7 separate regions of the Homo sapiens genome follow, and all the other regions are linked to region 1. The links are contacts of gene promoters, found by promoter capture Hi-C in blood cells and fetal thymus (Javierre and others, 2016). All regions are on one chromosome and are shown on one strand. Each heading gives the region's core, a stretch centred on a gene start or on the middle of the fragment in contact. The rest is flanking DNA. Distances are from core to core; before and after follow the strand shown.

Evidence for each region. Contacts are between HindIII fragments. The CHiCAGO score rates a contact against its expected background, and 5 or more counts as called.
Region 2: a contact is called between a fragment that was not itself captured here and the fragment with the promoter of ANKRD29 in region 1, in 4 of 17 cell types (total CD4 T cells, total B cells, activated CD4 T cells and 1 more). The highest score is 5.7, in total CD4 T cells.
Region 3: a contact is called between a fragment that was not itself captured here and the fragment with the promoter of ANKRD29 in region 1, in 8 of 17 cell types (total CD8 T cells, naive CD4 T cells, M0 macrophages and 5 more). The highest score is 7.9, in total CD8 T cells.
Region 4: a contact is called between a fragment that was not itself captured here and the fragment with the promoter of ANKRD29 in region 1, in 7 of 17 cell types (naive B cells, M2 macrophages, naive CD4 T cells and 4 more). The highest score is 6.8, in naive B cells.
Region 5: a fragment that was not itself captured here is called in contact with the fragment with the promoter of ANKRD29 in region 1 in 1 of 17 cell types (total CD8 T cells); the score reaches 5.1 in total CD8 T cells.
Region 6: a contact is called between a fragment that was not itself captured here and the fragment with the promoter of ANKRD29 in region 1, in 1 of 17 cell types (M1 macrophages). The highest score is 7.3, in M1 macrophages.
Region 7: a contact is called between a fragment that was not itself captured here and the fragment with the promoter of ANKRD29 in region 1, in 1 of 17 cell types (M1 macrophages). The highest score is 5.1, in M1 macrophages.

Annotation. Positions count from the first base shown.
Region 1 is chr18:23,660,905-23,664,507 of GRCh38, reverse strand. It overlaps ANKRD29 (ankyrin repeat domain 29), which reads left to right and starts at 1,597. Exons shown (of 10, transcript NM_173505.4): 1 at 1,597-1,798. The coding sequence starts at 1,778. The HindIII fragment of the contact is 8,557 bases long and covers 1,241-3,603 here.
Region 2 is chr18:24,149,306-24,152,908 of GRCh38, reverse strand. The region is part of intron 3 of CABYR (calcium binding tyrosine phosphorylation regulated); the gene reads right to left. Among named protein-coding and RNA genes, the nearest start is that of CABYR, 12 kb to the right of the region's middle. The HindIII fragment of the contact is 1,147 bases long and covers 1,367-2,513 here.
Region 3 is chr18:24,121,814-24,125,416 of GRCh38, reverse strand. TTC39C (tetratricopeptide repeat domain 39C) reads right to left here. Exons shown (of 14, transcript NM_001135993.2): 9 at 1,474-1,583. It also overlaps the pseudogene RNU5A-6P. Among named protein-coding and RNA genes, the nearest start is that of CABYR, 15 kb to the left of the region's middle. The HindIII fragment of the contact is 881 bases long and covers 1,406-2,286 here.
Region 4 is chr18:24,097,003-24,100,605 of GRCh38, reverse strand. The region is part of intron 6 of TTC39C (tetratricopeptide repeat domain 39C); the gene reads right to left. Among named protein-coding and RNA genes, the nearest start is that of CABYR, 40 kb to the left of the region's middle. The HindIII fragment of the contact is 2,188 bases long and covers 635-2,822 here.
Region 5 is chr18:24,073,189-24,076,791 of GRCh38, reverse strand. All of the region lies in intron 4 of TTC39C (tetratricopeptide repeat domain 39C), which reads right to left. Among named protein-coding and RNA genes, the nearest start is that of TTC39C-AS1, 60 kb to the right of the region's middle. RefSeq lists an enhancer at 253-547. The HindIII fragment of the contact is 4,610 bases long and covers 1-3,603 here.
Region 6 is chr18:23,991,775-23,995,377 of GRCh38, reverse strand. It overlaps TTC39C-AS1 (TTC39C antisense RNA 1), which reads left to right. Exons shown (of 6, transcript NR_110796.1): 6 at 899-1,165. It also overlaps a transcript of TTC39C not described here. Among named protein-coding and RNA genes, the nearest start is that of LINC02958, 11 kb to the right of the region's middle. RefSeq lists a silencer at 814-873. The HindIII fragment of the contact is 925 bases long and covers 1,428-2,352 here.
Region 7 is chr18:23,955,471-23,959,073 of GRCh38, reverse strand. LINC02958 (long intergenic non-protein coding RNA 2958) reads left to right here. Exons shown (of 2, transcript NR_199650.1): 2 at 443-1,320. Among named protein-coding and RNA genes, the nearest start is that of LINC02958, 25 kb to the left of the region's middle. The HindIII fragment of the contact is 1,427 bases long and covers 1,120-2,546 here.

The DNA.
Region 1 (3,603 bases), core at 348-2,847:
ACAAAAATTAGCTGGGCACGGTGACAGGAGCCTATAATACCAGCTACTCGAGAGGCTGAGGCAGGAGAATTGCTTGAACCCGGGGGGTGGAGGTTGCAGTGAGCCAGGATCATGCCACTTCACTTCAGCCTGGGCAAAAGAGCGAAACTCCATCTGAGAAGAAAAAACAAACAAACAAACAAAAAACTATTAAAGCAAAACCTCTGATGCTTGATTTTTATATAATAACGTTGTGTGGCAACTTAAAAACTGTGTCATTTATAGGCACTCAAGGCAAGGAAAATGTTTAGAGTCCTTATTTTTAAAATTGGAATTTTCTATAAAAGTTCAGAATGTTTTTAATTTAAAGTTGTTTTAAGCACAAAGTAATACAATTTATCCATGAAGGTTAAACATTTTAATTTTTATCATTAACTTTTATTTGTAATTGTTTTCTACCTTTTAAATTAAATATTCGTTACAAATTTAATTGAGAAGAGGGAAGGAGGGGGAGAATGAATGAGTGGATTCTTATAGTTTGAGGGGGTAAGACCTCCATTTTTATACTATTTTTTTGTTTTGTTTTTATTTTTATTTTTGAGGCAGAGTCTTGCTCTGTTGCCCAGGCTGGAGTGCAGTGACCGAATCTTGGCTCACTGCAGCCTCAACCTCCCAGGTTCAAGCGATCCTCCCACCTCAGCCTCCCGAGTAGCTGGGACTACAGGTGCGCACCACCACGCCTGGCTAATTTTTGTATTTTTAGTAGAGATAGAGTTTTGCCATGTTGGCCAGTCTGATCTCGAACTCCTGGACTCAAGTGATCTGCCCGCCTTTGGCCTCCCAAAGAGTTGGGATTATAGGCGTGAGCCACTATGCCTGGGCTACTTTTTTACTTTCACTTTTCTAAAATGCTCTCAAAGAGCTGTTGTTGCCGTTTATACTTAAAACTCCCAGTTTTACTTCGCCCAAACCAATCCTGGGCAGGCAGCAGGAGTGGACACACATACTGCAATACTCCAGGGCTGCAGCATCAGACCCAGAGGAGGAGGGAACTGCTGGATTAATAACGCGGAGGAGGAGGAGGGGTATGAGTCTATTCCAAAATTGGCCTTTGCCCTTCAAAGAGGAAAAGACCACTTATTGTTTGTGCAATCAAAAGGTTTGTTTCCTAGATATTTTCCCCAGGAGAAAAAAGTTTCCCAGGAAACCGAGAAAGAAATTATAACGAAAATAGCTATTGGATGAATTTTTTCCTCAAGCTTCATTTTTACATCATTATAATATTTGTGCTGTAATGAAGGTTGGGAGTCCTCTGGGGCAGACCAGTCTATTTGGGAGGATATGTATGGAGTTTGTGTGTGAGTACATGCGGGTGAGTGGGCGTGAGTGTGGAAAGTATGTGTGTGGAACCTCTGTGTGTGTGGAATGTGGAGCGTATGCACAATGTGTGTGGAGTTTGGAGTGTGTGTGTGGACGAGTGAGTGTGGAAGTGTGGACGTGTGTGGAAAGTGCACAGTGCGTGCGGAGTTTGGGGTGTTTGTGCACGCGCGTGTGTGGCAGGTCCTGGAGCGCGTCCACGCGACACCCCATGTGTAGTGTGCGCGCGCGCGCGCCCCCGCGCCGCCCCTTCGGCCCGGCCCTGTGTGCGGCGGCTGCTGCCGGGCCGGGCGGCGGGAGCGCGCGGCGTCGGAGGCCGCCCCTCTGCGGAACGCCGAGAGCCCCGGGAGAGTGAAGGGCCGGGGAGGACAAGGCGCCCCGGGCCCAAAGCGCGCCGGCTCCCGCTCGGGCGGCCGCGGACATGTGCAGGATGTCCTTCAAGGTGAGCGACCGGGACTCCGGGGTCAGGGCTGGGGCCGGGCTCGGGCGGCCGGGCCCGCGGGGTCGGGTGGGGTGGGATGGGGTGGGATGGGGTGGGCGCTGCCCGCTGCCCGCCGCCTCCTCCTTCCTCTCTCCTCCAGCTGCGGGCGAGGCCCGGGAGGAAGCGGCGGGGCTGGGTGCGCCCTGTGGGTTTGCGGTTTGCCTGCCTGCCCTGCCTGAGAGGCTTCGCACTCATGGCTGTGGATCGGCTGAGTCTGTGCCCGGCGACGGGGCGGCGGGGACTGTCGCCGGGTAACAGGTCGGGGGCGGGTAAGAAGCCTGGGGTCAGCGCTGTCCTGCAGCAGAAGGAGTCCCCGACCCTGACCCTCTGGGTCCTCATGCAGGAGTACCAGCTGCACCCACGGATGCCTCCTCCCCGGAGGGGTGGCCAGCACCCAGGGAGGCTTCAGGGTCCAAAGGTGTCTTGTCTCAAAAGAGTTGATTAAAGTCATTCCATCTAATCCCCACATTTTAGGATGAAAGAGGTTGATTTGCCTCGATTGAAAGGGTTTAATAAAAATAGCAGTTAAAATGTATTAAACAGTTCAAATGTGCCTGACTCTGAACCAAGGACATGGTGTGTATGGTCTCAACCCTGGGGGAGACCTGTGGGAGGTGCTCTTCGTGGCTCTTTTTTTTTTTTTTTTCAAATGAGAAAACTAAGATATAGAGAAATTAACTCACCCACGGTTTTGCAGCCAATAAGTTATGGTGTTAAGACTGAAACCCAAGTGTGTCTGACTCCTAAGCCACTGTAATCCCGTTGCCGACAATAGCTCATGTAAGCAGAGGAGTGACATGGCGAGATGTGCATGTTGCAAAGATCTCTGGCTAGGTTTGGAGAAGAGGGTTGGAGCTGGAAGATGTTGTCATCTTTTTAAGAAATGGTACTGGACCAGTGCATAGGTGGTGAGAATGGAACGAAGCAGACGAATGTGAATGACTTTAAAGTTTTTTTTCCTGAGACGGAGTTTTGCTCTTGTTGCCCAGGCTGGAGTGCAATGGTGTGATCTCAGCTCACTGCAACTTCCGCCTCCCGGGTTCAAGCTATTTCTCCTTCCTTACCCTCCAGAGTAGCTGGGATTACAGGCGTGCGCCACCATGCCCAGCTAATTTTTTCGTATTTTTAGTAGAGACGGGGTTCTGCCATGTTGGCGAGGCTGGTCTCGAACTCCTGACCTCAGGTGATCCACCCTCCTTGGCCTCCCAAAGTGCTGGGGTTAAAGGCGTGAGCCACTACGCCCGGCCGACTTTAAAAGTTTTAAATCGGCATAATTCAGTAGGGAAGGCAAGAGAGATAAAGATAAAACGTTTGGTTTGGGATAAATTTTGAGGATAGATGGGAATCCAAGCAGAGATGTTGATTAGACAGATATACTCTCCTCGATCCCAGGAGGCAAGTCTGGGCAGCAGCTAGAGATGAGATTTAGGAGTCAGCAGTGTTAAGTAGGCACCCATGGGAATGAACATGATTGCCCAGTGGAACCATATAAAGGTGGAAAATAAGAGGACTGAGGACAAAATCTTGAAGAAGATTTGAGAAAGAGCAGCCAGAGACGAATGAGAAAACTCAGAAGCATGTGCTGTCACTTACACCAAGCATCTCTAATCTTTCAACAAAGATGAAGAGGACCTTGATGTTTATTAATGCCACAGGGAAATCAAATAAACAAAGAATTGAAAAGTCCATTGGATTTAGTGACGGAATAGGCACTGGTGACCTTGCCAAGAGCACTTTCAGTGGTGTTAGGATCAGGAGCCAGATTG
Region 2 (3,603 bases), core at 691-3,190, 490 kb before region 1:
ACTGACCTCCCCATACCCACACCAATTCAAGGCCTCCCTATTTTCCCCCATTAGGTCTTAAATTCTCCAACCACTGATTTACTTACCATGAGCGTTTATCAAGAATGCAGCCAATCTAGGGATTGGATTACTGCAATCCCTAGACTGCCTGCACGGGACCTGACAGGTTGCTTGTGGTATGACTTAGGCAACTCTGGAAAGGACCACTTGCTCTTTTAATTAAAAGTGTCTCCCTCACAGGTTCATGGTACCTGAAATTACGTCTAGAAGATTAAAATGTAATTAATTTTTTAAATGTTAAAAAAGCTCAATATTTTTGTCTCTGGAAGTCCCCTGCTAAACAAAAACATCCCTTATAACCACCATTCTGGAAAGGTAAAGCATTTATAATTATGAATCCTTAACAATTTACCAGGGAATGTATGATATTGTTTTCTTCCCTGCAACTTTCTCATAGTAAAAAAGTTAATGAGAAAACCTAGGTTCTAGTCCTGGTTCTGAGATTTAATAGCTGCATGACCAAGTCAACTGTTCCAAGCTTCAGGCCTCCTCACTTGCAAAATGGGGATTATAACTCTGACTTCATGGAGTTTCTGTGGACACTAAGTGAAATAATGCATCTGAAAGCACTGAATAAACTCTAAATCACATATAAATGGGGAAGGAGTGAATCAGTACCCATTTAAAAAGTGATACAGAAAAGTTTTGAAAATGTGATATCAAATTAAAAATATAAATCTCAAATATCTTTAATTCAGCTTTGATTAAAATTAAATTGGCTATTTCCTAAACTGGGTGGTAAAATACAGGATGTTTTTTCTTTATATGTGTGTGTTATATACTTATGGACTTTTTCATAATTAAAAACTGAGACCAGATGCCTTAAACTTTTATAGTGTTTTTGCAAATGCAAACACTAGGTCAGGCACGATGGCTCATGCGTATAATCCCAGCACTTTGGGAGGCTGAGGCAGGCAGATCACTTGAGGCCAGGAGTTCGAGACCAGCCCAGCCAACATAGTGAAATTCTGTCTCTACTAAAAATACAAAAATAAGCCAGACACAGTGGCACATGCCTGTAATCCCAGGTACTCAGGAAGCTGAGGCAGGAGAATTGCTTGAGCCCGGGAGGTAGAGGTTGCAGTGAGCTGAGATTGTGCCACTGCACTCCAGCTTGGGCAACAAAGCTAGACTCTGTCTTTAAAAAAAAAAAAAAAAAAAGCCAACACTAGATCAACCATTTGGCTTTGTTTGGAATACATGAAAGAATGCTGGCAAATATATACTTACTAGTTACTATACACATATAATGTAAATCTATATTGAGTTCATGTCATTATCTGTTTATTAAGAAGGGTAAAAAGCTTTTCTCTAATGTTTTAAGGTTAGCTTTAAATACTTACAACAGTCGCTGACTTGTAACCTTGAGATTATGTCGGTTGTATAAGACAGAATTTCTTCAAGTTGCAAACTAGGTTTGCTAAAGGTTGATCTTTCAACCTTATGAAGATTAACCCACTATGACTTTGGTGATCTGGTTCTACTTAAGCTGACAAAACTATACACACTGAGAATTAGGAACATAACTAAAGGCATTCCTTCTTGTAAAAAAGTTCCTTTTTAAGTATAATAAAATGACTCAAATTGGCTAACTTTAAAATTCATTGCAGAATCCTGATTTTCCATGAAACCAGTAAGATAAAGAGATAAATTCCAAGCATATGGTATTTTTTTAAATAGGCACAACTCATGGAGATTCAGGGTACTGAAGTACATAACTGCCCAAGAAGCATAAGGAAAAGGACATATTCTGGCATGGAATGGGAAATCTGAAAGGTATCAAAGACCACAAGTGTATAAGCAGCAGGGCCTAACAAGAGATACGAGAGGCTGTATAAGAATTGGAGGTGGGCCATCCTGGCTAACACGGTGAAACCCTGTCTCTACTAAAAATACAAAAAATTAGCCGGGCGTGGTGGCGGGCGCCTGTAGTCCCAGCTATTCGGGAGGCTGAGGCAGGAGAATGGCGTGAACCCGGGAGGCGGAGCTTGCAGTGAGCTGAGATCTCACTACTGCACTCCAGCCTGGGGCCAGAGTGAGACTCCGTCTCAAAAAAAAAAAAAAACAAAAAACAAAAAAACAAAAAAACTGGAGGTGGGAGGTGGGAAGCTCAAAGAGAGTGCTTAAAGTCAGGAATATGTATGGTACGTAATCTTTTAAGAATTTAAAACAAAAGATTCCAACTAGTCTGTATTGAACTGATTGGAATGAGAATACCAGAGACTATAAAGTAGGTGGTTTAGTTTCTCCCCTCTTCCTCCTTGCCCTTCCATCCATTCTTTCTTCATTCAACAAACATTAGTTGCACCATCTATCAAAGAGGAATAAGACTTCCTAAAGATCTCATTCTGATTAAGGATACAGGCAGATGATTGATTATATGACAATGTAGTCAGCACAGTGACTGAAATATGTATGGGGTACAGTGGCTTTTAGGTAATTTTGGTTAAGCTTTAGAAATAAGGAAAACGTGTGAAAGTGGCTAGTAATTTGGACTGTAGGAGGTGGAAAGCAAAAGAGGGCATGGCCAGTTTGAGGGAGAACAGCCATTCAGCCTATCCTAGGTAATCTCTCCCACGCCATGCCCCTTTGCCTTGCTTCTCCTCTTGGTTCTCCAGCACTGCCATCAAACTTCTCTGGGCCACAGTGAGCAACACCAAATGCAGTTTGGCATCTCTTTGGCTTTGTCCTTCCCTCTTCTCTTCCGGGTCTATTTCTGTCTCCCTCACCCCATTGAGAAGTGACAGCGTGCTGCAGTCCTCAGAGCCCTTGCTCGCTCTTGGCGCCTCCTCTGCCTGGGCTCCCACTTTGGCGGCACTTGAGCCCTTCAGCCCACCGCTGCACTGTGGGAGCCCCTTTCTGGGCTGGCCAAGGCCAGAGCCGGCTCCCTCAGCTTGCAGGCAGGTGTGGAGGGAGAGGCGCCAGCGGGAACCGGGGCTGCGCGCCGCGCTTGCGGGCCAGCTGGAGTTCCGAGTGGGCATGGGCTTGGCGGGCCCCGCATTCCGAGCAGCGGGCCGGCCCTGCCAGCCCCGGGCAATGAGGGGCTTAGCACCCAGGCCAGTGGCTGCATAGGGTGTACTGGGTCCCCCAGCAGTGCCAGCCCACCGGCGCTGTGCTTGATTTCTCGCCGGGCCTTAGCTGCCTTCCTGCGGGGCAGGGCTCGGGACCTGCAGCCCGCCATGCCTGAGCCTCCCACCCACTCCGTGGACTCCTGTGCGGCCCGAGCCTCCCCGATGAGCACCGCCCCCTGCTCCACAGCACCCAGTCCCATCGACCACCCAAGGGCTGAGGAGTGCAGGCGCACGGCACCAGGACTGGCAGGCAGCTCCACCTGCAGTCCCCAGTGCAGGATCCACTGGGTGAAGCCAGCTGGACTCCTGAGTCTGGTGGGGACGTGGAGAACCTTTATGTCTAGCCCAGGGATTGTAAGTACACCAATCGGCACTCTCTATCTAGCTCAAGGTTTGTAAACACCAATCAGCACCCTGTGTCTAGCTCAGGGTCTGTGAATGCACCAATCAACACTCTGTATCTAGATACTCT
Region 3 (3,603 bases), core at 597-3,096, 460 kb before region 1:
TCAGAATAAACAGGCTACATTTTTCAAAAACAAATTCAAATAAAAAATATACCTCAGACACTTTAAAAGCACACAGTTCATCATCAATGTGAATGACCCTCTCCTTCAAAGCTAAGAATAACAATTCTTCTCTCTATAAAAAATGTTGCTTTCAATTTTTGACAGACTGGAAATTATGCCTTTCATTCATTATTCAACTGAACCTACTATCAAAATGCAGGGTGGGGCCAGGCATGGTGGCTCACGCCTGTAATCCCAGCACTTTGGGAGGCCAAGGCAGGCAGATCACCTGAGGTCAGGAGTTTGAGACCAGCCTGACCAGCATGGAGAAACCCCGTCTCTACTAAAAATACAAAATTAGCCGGGTATGGTGGCACATGCCTGTAATCCCAGCTACTCGGGAGGCTGAGGCAGAAGAATTGCTTGAACCTGGGAGGCGGAGGTTGCGGTGAGCCAAGATTACGCCATTGCACTCCAGCCTGAGCAATGAGAGCAAAACTCCGTCTCAAAAACAAAAACAAAAAAAGACGCAGTGTATATTCTGAAAACTTGGGGATGAAACTAGATTTACATGCATTTAGAGTGACAGAATTTATAAAGCTTGGTGACAGCTAATAATTCAACGGGCTTACACACACCTAAGGAACTAAGACTAGATGCCTTTTAGTCACAGTTCTCTTGATTTTAAAATTTTCTACTGAGTGCCAGTGCTCTCTGCTGTACATTATAATCAAATTTATACTCAAAAGCTTCATTAAATGTTCATTCAATAAAAACATATAAAACTAAAATAACTGATAATTCAGGATATAAGACACTACATAACTCAAGGTAATACGGCAACATTGTATTCACAGAAGTACAGAATACATAGGAATACTGTCTCTACAGTCTTGGGCCTTTCTGCTGGCAACTGTGACACTGTGACACACACATTTGCTTTTTATTACATCAAAATGTGATGTGTTCTCTATTCTCAACCCCAGACAGCCTGCATTTCTCACTAGGTCCTGCCAATTTGTATTCTTCCAAAACCACCCAATTCTTTAGACAGATCCTTTCTCTCTAGAGGTGTGTTCATTAGCTCTGCAGAACGTATAGTCTCCATTCATTAAAATTTAAAAAAAAACTATACTCCAGTTACCCTTCAGATCATATATATCTTTCACCTTTTGCTAAAGATTTCCATGAAGGGGAACCACTCTGAGTCTTAACCCAATTTTTTGAGGCCCTGTATCTGCAGGACTCATCGATTTTTTAAAAATCTGCTTTCATTATTTGCAGCAAGGCAAGAATCTTCTATTCAGAGCAGATGTACAATCATGGAGAGAATCCTCTGCATGGCGGTGAACTGCACTTTATGTGGCAAGTAAATAGGCAGCCTTGAATATAATTTCCTAAAGCTTGCCAAGGCAGTGTTGGTTACAAATGCCCATCATAAGTAATACACCAGATCAATAGGCTCCAACATACCTTTTTCACCGAGAACTGTTCAATCTGATTGTTTTTCCTTTTGAAGAGTTTCTGAACTTCTTTAAAGACAATCTGTGCCCCATCCACATCACCAGTGGCTCCCTGACAAACTGTAAGAAACCATAATTATATTTCTTAAGTACAAGTCAGGGAAAATGCCATAAGGGATACCTGAAGTGATGATACTTGAAAAAAAAAAAAGCAGGAGCAAATATGTTTAAAGACTATTCCACAATGGGCTGGACATGGTGGTTCATGTCAGTAATCCCAGCACTTTGGAAGGCAGAGGCGAGTGGATCACCTGAGGTCAGGAATTCGAGACCAGCCTGGCCAACATGGCGAAACCCCATCTCTGCTAAAAACACAAAAATAAGCCAGGCGTGGTGGCACATGCCTGTAATCCCAGCTACTTGCGAGGCTAAGGCAGGAGAATCGCTTGAACTTAGGAGGCAGAGGTTGCAATGAGCCGAGATCGCACCACTGCACTCCAGCCTGGGCGACAGAATGAGACTCTGTCTCAGAAAAACAAACAAACAAACAAACAAACAAACAAACAAAAAAAAGACTGTTCCACAAAGGACTGCACCGTCCTGCAGTCCTTCAACTATTTCCCAGGTTCCTGTGTTCCCAGAGCTTTTGGGGGACCTGGGGAAAGCCATGGTCCTTGTCCTCTTGTTGGGGAGACAGTTTTTCACATAACAAAATCCTTAGCTACTGTCACAGTGTACAACCTAGTTAGGGCTCACATACTCAAAGTGGAATAAATAGGAACCCAGGAAAGAACAATGAAGAGCCCCGAGGATCATGAAAGCTTCGTGGTAGAAGGAGGAGTTCTCTGTCCTAGGAAGTCATCAATCTGTCCTGTCCAAGTTCCTTGGCTGCCTACTACCTATAAGCCACCAGCAACAATGTGAAGAAGAAACACATGTGCTTGAATCCTAAAGAAACTGAAATTACAATTGAAAAGATCACACATGCTCACACACGCACATAGGGTCCCACAAGCTGCAATGTATGTAGTGATAGGAGTAGTCAGGGTAGGAGAACCAAAGTGGTTTTCAGAAGGCTCAGAAAGAGAAGGGATCATTTCTCTCTGGAGTGACCAGACGCTGTAAGGAGCTAGGAGAAGTCGAGCGGAGTCTTGAGGAATGAGTGAGATTTTGATCATGATCATGTGCACACCTTCTTCTCACCTCAGGCCCCAAAGATTTAATGATCCTCCCTTTGCTGTGTCTTCTCTGTCCCTTATGCAAACTTTGCACTGGCTGCAGCCCCACTACTGCTTGAAACTTTACCACAACTCCATCCTTTCCTCCCAACTCTGATGCTGCGGAATCCATTTCTATTCAATTTTGTTAGATCACATGTGGTTTTTCACTCCCCAGTTGGAATGCACTAAAGTTGACTTGCTAGTTCCCTCTTCTTTTTTTTTTTTTTTTTTTTGAGATGGAGTCTTGCTCTGTCACCAGGCAGGAGTGCAGTGGCGTGATCTCGGCTCACTGCAACCTCCGCCTCCTGGGTTCAAGCAATTCTCCTGCCTCAGCCTCCTGAGTAGCTGGGACTACAGGCACATGCCACCATGCCCAGCTAATTTTTGTGTTTTTAATAGAGATGGGGTTTCACCATATTGGCCTCTTGTACTCGTGATATGCCTGCCTCAGCCTCCCAAAGTGCTGGGATTACAGGTGTGAGCCACTGTGCCTGGCTAGTTCCCCCTTCGTTACCTGAGCACCCCTAAAAGTAGGTTGGTCCCGTACTCGCATTTGGGCATGGTCAAGCAGTCACCTATCCCAGGCGTGCACGTACCAGGATAGGCTACCATCGGCAGAGCCCAAGGGTCCAAGAATTGAGGCTCGGAGAGAGCTGAGGATGCAAAGACAATGGGAAAGACGGCAGGTTCCTCCTACTGGGATTAAGAGTGATGAGGCTGAATATTCAAAGGAAGGGACAACTCCTTTCCCAGTCACTGGGGCATCTCTGGTCCAGATGGAGGAGTGTGCACCAATCCAAAATGACCTTATCAATTGCAGCTGTAACATTTCCAAACCAGAATGAAGCTCAGTGGCTGTATTGTGCAACCAACCCCATTATTTTTAGATCAGAGGATGCAAAGGTCTGGAAAAGCTGAGC
Region 4 (3,603 bases), core at 479-2,978, 440 kb before region 1:
AATGCCCTCCACTCTGGCCACAACCCTAAGAAGAGTCACACTGCAGTGCCACTGTCATTACAGCCAACGACTGGGCACTCACTCCAAGCCTTGTGCTGCACACGCCTCCTGGGTTGCCTCACTGAATCCTAACAGCTAAACTGGGCCAAGATACCACTGGGATCCCCATCTCACTGAGGAGGGAAGCAAGGCTTAAAGAGGTGAAGGGCCAAGGTCACTCGGCCAGAGTGGAGGGGCCAGGATTCATCCCAACAGTGGCCTCCAGGGGTGAGCCCTAAACCCTGAGCTTCTGCCAGGCGGAGGACAAGGGCCACAGACTCAGAGTAGGCCTTCCACACAGGTTATTAAAGGATGTAAGATGAATCATAATCATAATCAGATAATTAAGACACATCACAATGAACATTTAATAAAACCTTCAGGCTCCCTAAACACCCTGAATGTGATCAAATCCCTAATCCCAGAACACAAATATCCAACTATTCTAATACAACAAATGTGTTATGATAAACTATTAAGAAAAACTGTAAAACAAGCTAAGTTAAGGGAAACTAGAAACGATGGAAATTTTAAAATGAGTTGATTAAAAAAATCAATCTCTCTCTCTCAAAACCAATATGATAATCCAAAAGCTTAATCATAAAATTAAGAAAACACAAATTAGTCTAATAAAATAATATCACATTTTTACAGATCTGAAACTAGTATTAAGTTATATGTTTGGAAAGTAATAACTAGAAATGGAAAACTATAATATAAAACTAAAATGGATATAAGTAAATATATATTAACATTACAGAAGAAATAAGGGAAGTTATTAAAAAACTGATTTCAAAAGGGAATTTCACAGCAGTAAGTTACATAAGAACTCCTTCCAATGTTTAATGGCAGTTTAATTACTTTAAGTGATCTGTTTCTCCAAAATATGGAGATATAAGAAAGCATATAAAAAAGATACGCTTTTAGCCAAATCATTAAAAACAAATCAGGTCTATTCCTAAAGCCTAGTAAACACAAGTCCCAGAAATATTTATATTCACATTTAAATACATACATATATATATTAATTGCTAAGTTACATATATCAGTTATATATTATATATAACATTGTTATGGAATGCTCCTGCCTCACAAAATTGATACATGAAATCCTAACCCTCACTGGAACTGTATTAGGAGGTGGGAGTTTTGTGAGGTAATCAGATCATGAGGGTGGAGCCCTCATGAATGCAATTTGTGCCCTCATAAAAGAGACCCCTGAGTGCTCTCTAGCCCCCTTTCCACCATCTGAGGACACAGTGAGAAGCCATCATCTATGAACCAGGACATGGTCCTCACTAGACACCCAATCTTCTGGCACCTGGATCTCATGCCTCCAGAACTGTGAGAAATAAAAGTGTGTTGTTTTAGTCACCCAATCTATAGTATTCTTTTATAGCAGCCCAAACTAAGACACACACATACACACACACACACACACACACACACACACGTTTTATATATATATATGTATATATGTTATATATATGTATATATGTTATATGTATATACGTGTATAGATATATATATACACACACACACACACACACACACACACACATTCCTCTAACTTATTAGCAAATAAAAGCAGTGGGATATACTAGAAAAAACACTCGATTAAAAAAAGAAAGCCTGGGCTGGGCGCAGTGACTCATGCCTGTAATCCCAGCACTTTGGGAGGCCAAGGCAGGAGGATCACTTGAGGTCAGGAGTTCGATACCAGCCTGGCCAACATGGCAAAACCCCGTCTCTACTAAGAATACAAAAATTAGCCAGGTGTGGTGTTGGGCACCTGTACTCCCAGCTACTCAGGAGGCTGAGGCAGGAGAATTGCTTGAACCGGGAGGCAGAGGTTGCAATGAACCAAGAACGCACCACTGCACTCCAGCCTGGGTGATAGAGCGAGACTCCATCTAAAAAGAGATGAAAAAGAGACAAACAGAAGAGAAGAGAAAAGAAGAAAGAAAGGGAGGGAGAGAGGAAAAGAAAGCAAGAAAGGGAGAGGAGAGGAGAGGAGAGGGGAGGGGAGGGGAGGGGAGGGGACGGGAGGGGAGGGGAGAGGAGAGGATAGGAGAGGAGAGGGAAGGGAGAGGAGAAAAGAAAGGAAAGGAAAGGAGAAAGGAAAGAAAGGAAAGGAGGAAGGAAGGAAGGAGGGAGGGAGGGAGGGAGGGAGGGAGGGAGGGAAGGAAAAGAAAGGAAAGAAAGAAAGCCTGAATTCTAGGTCTTCCTTAATCCTAAAATAACTATGTACACTTTCACAAAGTACTTATCTCATCTGGACCCCTGCTTGCTATATACGACAGGACAGACATATGCAAAAATTTTATAGTCAAAATGGGAGAAATAAAAGGTGACATGACTAAATGAAGACATATCCTCAGTGACTGATAAGAAATATTATAAACATAGTATCAATTTAAATTTCCCATTAACAGAGAACCTGAGAAACTGATAGTTATGTATATATGTGAGAGAACAAGTGGATAAAAAATAATATAATATATATTTAAAAGGCAATCATGATATTCTTGTTTTATTTAAGACATAGGCAGGGTCTTCAAAATGGTCATAGAAAATGTGCATTATAATAAAACTATGCATGAATTTCAAATTTTTTTACACCAAAATAAGCCCATACTAACTTGCTATAACATGTCTGAGCAGGATCTAGTTTGAGGCACTAAGAAGCATAAGACATCAACTTGAAAAGAGCCCCTATCAGAGCAACATAAATTCTGCATTTAAATGGAAGCAAGAACAAACATAAAACCTATGGTGAAGCTTGGGTGAAAGAATGGTGAAATCACTGACACTTTACAAAAAGTTTATAGGAATAATTCCCCAAAGAAATCAGCAGTTTGCAAATGTATAAGTTTACGAAGGGCCAAGACGATGTTGAAGATGAAGCCCATGGTGGCAGACCATCTACACAGATTTGCAAAGAAAATATTAATCTTGTTCATGCCCTAATTGAAGAGGACTATAAATAATAGCCAACACCATAGACATCTCAATTGGTTCAGCTTACACCATTCTGACCAAAAAAGATGAGCAAAGTTTCACTTGATGGGTGCCAAAACCACTGCACCCAGATCAGCTGCAGACATGGGCACAGCTTTCAATGGAAATTGTAAATAAGTGGGATCAAGATCCTGAAGTGTTTCTTCAAGGAACTGTAATAGGAGATGAAATGTGGATTTACCACTACAATCCTGAAGACAAAGCACAATCTAAGCAATGGCTACAAAGAGGTGGGAGTGGCCTAGTCACAGCAAAGACAGCAAGAGCAAAGGTGATGGCAACAGTTTTTTTGGGATGCTCAAGGCATTTTGCTTGTTGATTTTCTGGGCGTGGGGACAAAGAATGATAACATCTGCTACTTATGAGATTGTTTTAAGAAAGTTAGCCAAAGGTTTAGCAGCAAAACACCCCGGACAGCTTCACCAGAGAGTCCTCCACTGTGACAATGCTCCTGTCCATTCCTCTCATCGAAAAAGGCCAATTTTGTGAGAATTTCCTTGGGAATCATTAGGCATTCACCTTACAGTCCTGATTTGGCTCCCT
Region 5 (3,603 bases), core at 620-3,119, 410 kb before region 1:
TATGGTAACAAGCTGTAAGGTCCTTAATTTGAGCCAAGGAAACAGAACCCAACGTTTTTGACTGAGTCAAAGATGATAAACTGATGTATGTCAAAACAAACTTAATGCTCATGTCGAGAGAGGCCATGTTGCTTTTACTACATTCTGCGTCCAACTTGGCACTGAAACAGGTTCTCGGGACTTGCCCTACTCTCCATCCCACACTCTGTAAAGCAAAAATTCCAGCCACAGCCAGGCCAAGCAGGAGGAGGCAGAGGCTGGGGGAGAATGCAGCACCGAGAACAGGACGCTCTGCACTGTGGCTCCTACAGGGGCCGCTCCAGCAGCTCCATGAGAGGACACAGCAGCTGAGTGCATGTCTTCCCAACAAGCAGAGAACACGCTATTTAAGAGCCATACACCCTGCACAGCCTTTCATCTGGCTGCTCTGAAAGGTCAAGTATGAATCATTCAGCTGTCGTTATCGCTGTGTCTGTGGAGGGAGGTGGAGACAGCAGAAAAACCACAGAGCAGGCCGGGCGCGGTGGCTCATGCCTGTAATCCCAGCACTTTTGGAGGCTGAGGCAGGCAGATCACTTGAGGTCAGGAGTTCAAAACCAGCCTGGCCAACATGGTGAAACCCTGTCTCTACTAAAAAATACAAAAAAATTAGCCGGGCTTGGTGGCAGGTGCCTGTAGTTCCAGCTACTCAGGAGGCTGAGGCAGGAGAATAGCATGAAACCAGGAGGTGGAGGTTGTAGTGACCCAAGATTGTGCCACTGCACTCCAGCCTGGGCAACAGACAATCTGTCCCACCTTATGAGGACCAGGCAACAACTAGCTGAGAGATGGAGGGGGCGAGAGGAAACCCTGCCCCATACGGGGACAGAAGTCTTCCCTGGGAAAGGGCAAGAGCTGCTTGCAAAATGGGAATATCAAGTTACATGAAATTGATCTTGGATAAATTTTGTAATTTTTCAGGGGGACTGTATCTGGTGCAAGCATCTATTAAAGCCTGTCTGTCCAACTGTCCCGGAAGGAGGCTGGTTAACCCATGGCAATTCAGGCTTGCCTTTCTTGTGTCTCAAATAATAGAGGTTTTTTTTTTGTTTTTTTTTTTTTTTTTTTGAGACAAGGTCTCACTTGGATTGCTCAGGCTGCAGTGCAGTGGCACTATCTCACCTTACTGCAGCCCCGACCTCCCAAGCTCAGGTGATTCTTCCACCTCAGCCTCCTGAGTAGCTGGGACTACAGGCACACGCCACCAAGCCTGGCTGATTTTTTGTATTTTTAGTAGAGATGGGTTTTGCCATGTTGCCCAGGCTGGTCTCAAACTCCTAGACTCAAGCAATCCACCCACTTCGGCCTCCCAAAGTGCTAGGAGCCACCGTGCACAGGTGTGAGCCACTGTTCCTGGCCCAAGACTTTGAAGGACAAAAGATGATTTAGTTTTCACCAGTCAGCCCACTGCCTCGTTATCTTCAACCTTCACCAACAGACTTTTTTTTTTTTAATTATACTTTAAGTTCTAGCGTACATGTGCACAATGTGCAGGTTTGTTACGTATGTATACATGTGCCATGTTGGTGTGCTGCACCCATTAACTTGTCATTTACATTAGGTATTTCTCTTAATGCCAACCCTCCCCACTCCCCCCACCCCACGACAGGCCCCGGTGTGTGATGTTCCCCACCCTGTGTCCAAGTGTTCTCATTGTTCAATTCTAACCTATAAGTGAGAACATGCGTGTTTAGTTTTCTGTCCTTACAATAGTTTGCTCAGAATGATGGTTTCCAGCTTCATCCATGTCCCTACAAAGGACATGAACTCATCCTTTTTTATGGCTGCATAGTATTCCATGGTGTATATGTGCCACATTTTCTTTATCCAGTCTATCATTGATGGATATTTGGGTTGGTTCCAAGTCTTTGCTATTGTGAATAGTGCCGCAATAAACATACATGTGCATGTGTCTTTATAGCAGCATGATTTATAATCCTCTGGGTATATACCCAGTAATGAGATGGCTAGGTCAAATGGTATTTCTAGTTCTAGATCCCTGAGGAGTCGCCACACTGTCTTCCACAATGGTTGAACTAGTTTACCGTCCCACCAACAGTGTAAAAGTGTTCCTATTTCTCCACATCCTCTCCAGCACCTGTTGTTTCCTGACTTTTTAACGATCACCATTCTAACTTATGTGAGATGGTATCTCATTGTGATTTTGATCTGCATTTCTCTGATGGCCGGTGATGATGAGCATTTTTTCATGTGTCACCAACAGACTTCTAATAGGCTCACTTCTCCAATCCCAATATCTTCCTGAATGGCATTACCTTTCCTCCATTTCCTCCCTTTAATTATGCCTGAGGTTGCAAATTTGTGAATTTTTGCAATCAGATCTTGGCAATGACCTTGAACCGTAGGATATAAATAACTCCCACATGCTTAGCGTTCCAATAATGGAACACTAGGCATGAATGGATTTTAGTATCCACCCACCATGTTCTAGGCAAAAACGTCCTACCAGGTTCTAAGGACACAGAGAAGGAAACGGACCTTCATGCTTTATAAACCTCCTCAGGGATAAGGGATCCTTGATCTTCCCAAAGATTCAGAAACACTTGTTCCCTATTCAACCTCTATAACTAACTTATATGTCTATGGCTGAAGTATCCTGCTGAATTAGAATTTATTTACTTACTTATTTGTTCCTACTGCCAAACCATGAGTTCTCCCAGGGCATGAAGTGCATCTCATTCATCTCAAGACTACCAGCACCTATCATCTCACAGCATGTGGGCACATAGGAAATGCTCAACATATGTGGGGAAGAGGTAAAACAGCAGGTAGATTGCACAGTCCCTGCCCTCAAGGGGTATGTAGCCTAATACTTTAGGCAGACATGTAAATAAATATGAGTATTGCTATGTGATACCTGCAGTAAATGGTGATGTACAGGGTATAAGTAATAGCACAACAAAGGCCAGATTGGCTGGGCATGGTGGCTCACACCTGTAATCCCCACACTTTGGGAGGACAAGGCGGAAGGATTGCTTGAGCCCAGGAGTTCAAGACCTGCCTGGGCAGCATAGTGAGACCCCTATCTCTACAAAAAATTTTTAAAAAATTAGCCAGGTGTGGTGGTACATGCCTGTAGTCCCAGCTACTCAGGAGGCTGAGGCAAGAGGATCACTTGAACCTGGGACCTCAAGGCTGAAGTGAGCTATGATCTCCAGCCTGGATGACAGAGTGAGACCTTGCCTCTTAAAAAAAAAAAGAACCAGGATTGATATGAGGAGGGAATGCTGTACAAAGGAGGAAGGCCTGGGTTGCACTTGATTAAGCATAAGAGAAAGATAAAGGGGGTAGGGGTGTTCCACACTGAGAGGGCAAGGTGAATAAAAGCTCGAGGCAGCAGCGGGTATTCAGGGAGTGTGAGAATCTCAGCTCAGCTAGATGAGGTAGTGGAAGGGCAGGTGGCTGGGAAAGAGGCAGGGTCTTACATGCCCCGCACAAAAGGAATTCAGACCTTCCCTTGCAGGTGAGGCCCACCAGCTAAGTGTTTAAAGCATGGGTTTAAGCAGTTCTGGAAAGATACTCTAGCAGCAATGGAGAGTGTGG
Region 6 (3,603 bases), core at 641-3,140, 330 kb before region 1:
GTGCCTCAGCCCCCTGAGTAGCTGGGACTACAGACGCGCGCCACCACACCTGGCTAATTTTGGGGTATTTTTAGTGGAGATGGGGTTTCGACATGCTAGCCAGGCTGGTCTCAAACTCCTGACCTCAAGTGATCCACCCGTCTCGGCCTCCCAAAGTGCTAGAATTACATACATGAGCTACCACGCCTGGCCGATTCCATTTATTTAACAGTCTTGAAATGACAAAATTATCGGGATTAGTGTTTGTCAGGAGTTAGGGATAGTAGAGAGAAGGCAGGTAAGTGATACCATAAAGGCATATCTTTGTGATGAAGGAATAGTTCTGTATCATAATTGCAATGCTGATTAGACAAACCTACACACGTGATAAAGTGACAGAGAACTATACACACATTTTACCAAAGTCAATTTCATGGTGTGAGATGTAACCATTAGGAAAATCTTGTGGATTATAATTATTATTATTTTTTTTTAAAAAAAAGGAAAAGATCCTGATGTCCAGGCCACTCCCAGACCAATGAAATCAGAGTCTCTGAGGGTGGAGTTCACGCATCAGCGCGTGGCCCTGGTGATGACTAAGTGCAGCCAAGTTGCAGTTTATTATAAGGCAGTTCATAGATGCTGCTGCTGCTGCTGCTAGCATTTCATCTGCTGAGAATCACACTCAGTAGCAACAGCCGTCCAAGATACAGCCCTGCGGGGCTTTGAGTGTTAACGTTGGGTGCATAGTGATGAGGCTTTTTTAAAGCCTTGAAACGGGGCCAACTGGTAATACCTAAGGAACGTAAGTACCATTCAGTGTGTTTGTGTAAGCCCTGGCTATGAGGGGAGGGGCGAGTGGGGGAAGCACATGATGTTAAACTAGGCTAATGGGTTTAATTTTCCTTTGTTTTCCTAGATTTCCTGGCAAACAGAAAAAGCTCTCTTGGTCTTTAAAGTTCATGACAGATTCCCTAAGTGTTTGTAAAACATCTGCCAACCACACTGATGGGCTCTCACACAAAGGTTTTGGAAATACAGACTGATTTCCTTTGGTTACTAAAACTGATTTTTTTTTTTTTTTTTGGTTACTACAATTGATTTTATCTCTATAATTTTCTTCTCTGTCATCTTATTTTAAACAAAAACCGTGGCACAAAAATAAAGTGATGGTTTTTGAGGAAAACATATCTATTTGTTTTTCTTTTTGTATCTTCAGCCAAAACATCTAAGGAATAATAATGAAAATAATAGAAAATCTTTTGCACTGGGAAATTGTTTCCCTCTGTTTTTAGCCTTCATTTATTTTTTTGCCAGAGCTTCATATCTTTTCAGAGATTCATGTGCATAACAGTTTTAAATGTTTTCCAAAATGAACTTCTCCAGCTGAATCTCAGAGAAGAAAGCTTTGTTAATGGCAACAATTCATTTAAGATTAATATGAAGCTTTCTGGATGATTGTTGGTGATGTCATATGAACCATTAGGGTGGTGCAAAAGTAATTGCAGTTTTGCCATTAAAAGCAATTATTTTTGCACAAACCTAATACCAAAACATCTAATGTCAAACTATGGTCCATTTCTATTATATTTCCCAAGACAATTAAATTAGTATATAATTTTTTTCATAGATTTTCAGTTTATAATATGTAGTGAAATTAAATAATTATCTAGAATAGCATTGCTAATTGTGACATTACTTAAATATTTATGAAAAATAAACTTTGATCTGGCATTTCACTCACAGCTGGTCAAGGCTAGTAAAAGATGAGATTCTAAATTTCACAGCTGGAGGCCTACATTTCGATCTTTATACAAGATTTAATGAAATTCACAGTGACATTTTTAGTTATTTTGATACATTCTCAACCAAGTAGGAGTACAAGATCTATAAGTGAGGGTCTAGTAAATTATTTGATATGAAAAGGGGTCCGTGTACTTCATAATAATTAGTCATAACAAGTGCTATGGCATTTATTGAGCATCTGTGTGTGGACATTTTGTTATTGTAGATATTTTCTATTAACCTGATATTAATGCATGTCTTTACACCCAACCCTCCAAGGGATACTATGCAAATGCTTTAACATCTGGCATTTGTTGAAAAATAGCAGAGATTTTAAAGAATGGCACTGAGAAAGTCTTGCCACGTTTTTATGGAAATCCATTCTGGAAGCATTTCTTTCCATTATATGTCTTGTCTATTTCATATTGAAAGCCCTTTTATCACAGCTTCAATTTGCGTTAGTATTTTACCATCAAAGATGAACTTAGCCAGTGCAATGACAACATGATAAAAACATAAAATGATACAATGATTCTTCTTGTTTATCACTTACCCTGTCTCATTAAGCCACTTACCACAAAAGAAGCTTGAGATTTCTTAGGAGCAAGATTTTAGAATTCTTAGGACTCAGCCTTTCTGAGCCAGTGGCAGGATAGTTGCTTCTAAAGAGGCTGTGTGTGTAGGTGCTGGAGGGGTTAGGTCTCCAGGAGGGACAAGATGGGCAGCTGGAAATAAATTCAGAATCCTGCCTCTGTTGTAGCAAAACTCTCCATTCTCTTTCTCACCTTTTCTCAGAACCTGCTTACATAACTGTGGTTAACCTATATGCGTAAGCATGATTAAAAAGATTGACACAGCCTGGCAGTCTTTTCTGTGCTATGCACCCAGGAGCACAGCCCTTGGGCCTGAAGCATTGGCAGCGGGCTCTGGCTCTGTGTGTGGCGCAGGTCAGTCCGGCCTGCCTGCCAATTACTCAGTAGTTATGTCCAGGGAGAAGCAAGCCATGCTTGTTAGGCAGATTGCTGCACTCTGAGCACAAAAATGTCAAGGGCACATAATTACTCCTAATGCAAAAACATAGAAAAGCTGCAATTAAAAGGCAGTGGAGCAGTGCCTTTCTTATTTCTGGAGAGACTGGAAATTACAGTAAGGCAGCACACTGGGCTTTCTCTGCCTCCTAGTATACACAAATATTTTCAATTAATTACAACGTGTAATGGTATATTTATTTTTGGATCTCCTGTCTCCCCATAGGCTTCATGTGAGCAAAGACCACATGTCTGGCTTGTTCACCACTGCACACTCCCAGGACATGGTAGGAATTCAGTGACTATTTAATGAATGGATGACCACGGTATTTCAGTTTTAGGAAAGAATTTCCAAATACATTTTTCCCCATTCATTGAGTCCTTATTTAACCAAGTTAACTAGACAATACGTCCTCTACATTGTTCATGGGGAATTACTGAGCCAGACCTGGGGGAAATGACATAATATCCTATTAATTTTTTTTAAAAAATTATTTTTAATGTTCGTGGGTATATAATAGGTATACATATTTATGGGTTACATGACATATTTTGATATAGGCATGCAATGCCTAATAATCACATCAGGGTAAATGGGGTATCCATCCCCTCAAGCATTTATCCTTTGTGTTACAAACAATCCATTTATATTATTTTAGTTACTTTAAAATGTACAATTACATTATTTTTTGCTATAGTCACCCTGTTGCGCTAGCCAATACTAAGTCTTATTCATCCTATTTTTTTGAACCGATTAACCATCCCCATTTCCACCTACTCCACCACTACCCTTTCCAGCCTCTGGTAACCA
Region 7 (3,603 bases), core at 584-3,083, 290 kb before region 1:
GTTTAGAAATGCATGCTCCCTGAGTGTGAAACGATTAAAGTTAGTGGTTAATATGCAAAAGCCTTTTGAGCAAGTGATGATTTAATCAGTAAGTGTGTGCTGCTGTGTGACCTGTGTGCATTCGCAAGACTCAAGTGCTGCAGAAAGTTCCGGCCCTCTGCCCTCTGAAACTCCCAATTCTCATTTTATCAAGGGCTCAATGTAGAGTAAAATAAACCACACATTCAAAATGTATGGAGAAAGAAATCTTCTGGAAATGGAAAGTTACACTTTATATACTGGGGTCATACAAGTCTTTATGAGCGAGGCAGAAAAGACATTTCCAGTCAATAGCATTCACCATCTCAGGCCCCTGTCCCTCTACTTTGGGAGAATTACGTTCCTTGCCCTGAGGATGATTAACAAGGATATCCCCGATTTCATCTCTGCTTTCTATTCCCAGCTACGCAGACATTGTGCTGGAATTTCTATGCTGAAGAATTAAGCTATATTGTTTGGCAAAAGAAGAAACTGAAAACAAGAAATCCATCCCTTTCTACCACTGCTATTATATCATCCACGTTTAAAAAAAAAAAGTTTGTATGTAGTTATATACAACAAGAAGTTTCTGCTTCGGATTTCTCTGTTGGGCAGGGTGGTGGGAGGGATGGGGTCTCGAGTTTTTCCCAAGTGAAATCCTGGTAATCCTGCCTGAGAGAATTCTTATGAAAGTTTCACTCACAATGAAAGCAAACTTCCAAGGTGGAGGAGGGTGAAGCCGGCTGGCTGGACCGATCACTGAGGCCCAGTGCTGCGAAGAGAGTTCAGCACATTATTCCAACCCTTTCTGGGAGCACGGCCCAGGCTTGGCACCGGTTTGGTGTTCTCGAGTGTGATGCATTCTGAAAACCTGGCTGCGTCCGTGGCCCAGCTCCAGTTCTGCAGGGCTCAGCATCAGGCTGCCCCCTCTCCTAAGGTGTTTTGCAGGATCGCCCCTCAGAGCTAAACACCCACCAGCTGACCACCTGTTCCAGGTGATGGGATTTTGGCTCAGATCAGCCTGGATCAGGGTGGACCTCTACAAGCTGGCTTGCATGAATGTAAATGTCTGCTGCCCATCTTGAAGACCATCGGCAAGCTTTGGTGGGTTCATATTCAGTGGCATTAGGGATTAAGGCAAACTTAAAATGATTCTGAGTGTAAACAGATACAGATATAAACTTTTGGGGGAACAATTTGGTAATAGCTAATAACAATCGTTAAAATGTTTATATCCTTTGACCTGATAGTGTTAGTTCTAAGAATTTACCTTAAGAAAATAAATAAATTTATATCCCATGATATCTTCATTTTAGTGTTGCTTGTAATTGCAAAAAGAAAAAAAAAGAAAAGAGAAAAAACCCCATTTACTGAATAATTGGAGGGTGGTTAAATACATTACGGTAAATTCATCTGATAGAATAAAATGCTCTACAGTTAAAGACCTAGGAAACACAATAGACTTTGCAAAACCATATAAAAACAATATATATGGTATCATCATGATTTTTGTAAAAAAATACATGTGAATTAAAAGACTAATGAACATATAACTATATACAAACAGATTTCGGAGTGGTGAGATTCTAGGTGATTTTAATGCCTCTCTGCATATTCCAATTTTTCCATAACGAACACACATACCACTGATATTCAATAAAAAAAGGTTATTTTAAATTTTTTTCTACCCATATGCTGACTGTAAGTCCTCATTCCAAAGGAAGAATAAGACCTTTCGGGGGCTACCACTGACCTGCCCAAGTTGGAATTAGTAAAAAGAGAACTGGGGAACCGGAAGAGAAGAGTTAGAGTGGCTGGCAGACGCTGAGGTGTGAGGGGTTTTCAGTGCAGCAGTTTTGGGGGTTGGGGAGAGTAGAGAAAGGAGCTGAGTTCAAGTTCTCTGTGGGGAAGTGGGACCACATCCTGCCTGGGAGAAGGGAAGGTCAGTGAGTTCTGTCCGGGGCTGCTGTCCTCTGGTACAGGGATATTATGAGCACGGCAAAAACTCAATAACTGTACGTATTAAGGAGTGAGGTCAGCCAGCACCTGGAGGGATGCTGAAGAAGGCAGGCCCGTGCAGACCCACGATTGCTTTACAGTTACTTGGTGCCCCTGAAGTGCCTGCTGCCCAGGGAGATGCACTGTTTCCAGTCCCCAATCCACTGAACGAAGATGGAACAATGGTGGACCCATCGTGAACTGGTCAGTGTTGTCTACCAGAGATCCTGCTGTCCCTCCCGAGACTCTCCTCACAAGGTCGGCCCAATTTGTGTGTGCCTATGAGCCAGGAAGAGCATACCAGTGACAATATTTGTATAGCATTTGATAGTTCACAAACAATTCTCATGAAAGTTCAGTCAAGGAGCTCTAGACATTCTTTTCAGGAAACACATATTTACAATCTGCAAATAGCCACACTGAGGGTGTTCTTTTTCCTCAGCTGTAATTTCATCTGTGACTCTCTCTGCTGCTTTCTGGTGGCTGGAACTGTATTCAGCAAGGGCAGATAGGTGGCTGTTCTTCAAGCTTTTACGAAATGGGGGAAAACCATCGGTATTAGTCAGTGAGGAATAAACTAGCCCTTTCTTTTTGTTTTTCTTTTGCTTTTTTAGACACAGGCTGGAGTACAGTGGGGTGATCCTAGTTCACTGCAGCCTCAACCTCCTGGGCTCAAGTGATCCTCCCACCTCGACCTCCAGAGTATCTGGGACTACAGGCATGTGCCACCAAGCCCAGCTAATTTTTTTTTATTGTTTTGTAGAGACAGGGTCTTGCTATGTTGCCCAGGCTGGTCTCAAACTCCTGGCCTCAAGCAATTCTCCTGCCTTGGCCTCCCAAAGTGCTGGGATTACAGGTGTGAGCCACCACACCTGGTCATTACCCCTTTCTAATGAATCTAGGAAGTGCTAACAAATAATCGGCACCAGTGAATAACTCCTTAGATTCAGTGAGGTTAACACTGGGGACCCAGAAGAGAGAACCACCGGCTTAGTGTAGACCTGCCAAAGGCAGGTGTTAAAATGGATGATCCTCTTGCAGACTCAGTTCCTGGCTGGTCATCACCTGGTGAATTTTTCATTTTAAAATCAATATTTCAAGAAAGCACATAGCTTAGAGTCATGTAGTTTAACCTCCAACCCAACATGGCATCCCTAAGGACCACCACCCAGCCTCTGTTGAATACTCCTATGATGGGGACCTCGCTACCTCTCCAGGAGAACATTCAATTTCTGTATAGATGTGGTTAGAAAGCATGTCCACAAGACTGCAGTGTGGAAGTCAGAAGAGAACATTGGGTTGAAGGGGATGTGACTCAGTTTCAAAGGTGCAGGGTGTGTAGCTATAAGGGTACCACATAGGATTACTATATCCAATTTTTTAGAATTATTTGTTATTTTTCTTCTGATGAACAAATACTATGTAGAGGATATGGAAATGCTTGTGTAGCCTTCTCTGTTAGGGAAAGTGGTGCTGGGTAATAATATTGGTTCAGTACATCATTCATTATTTTGTAGATAAAACTAGAAGTGAGTCCTCCATCCCACTGACTTTGGTTAGCTTGCCATATGAAGCTTCAGTGATGGT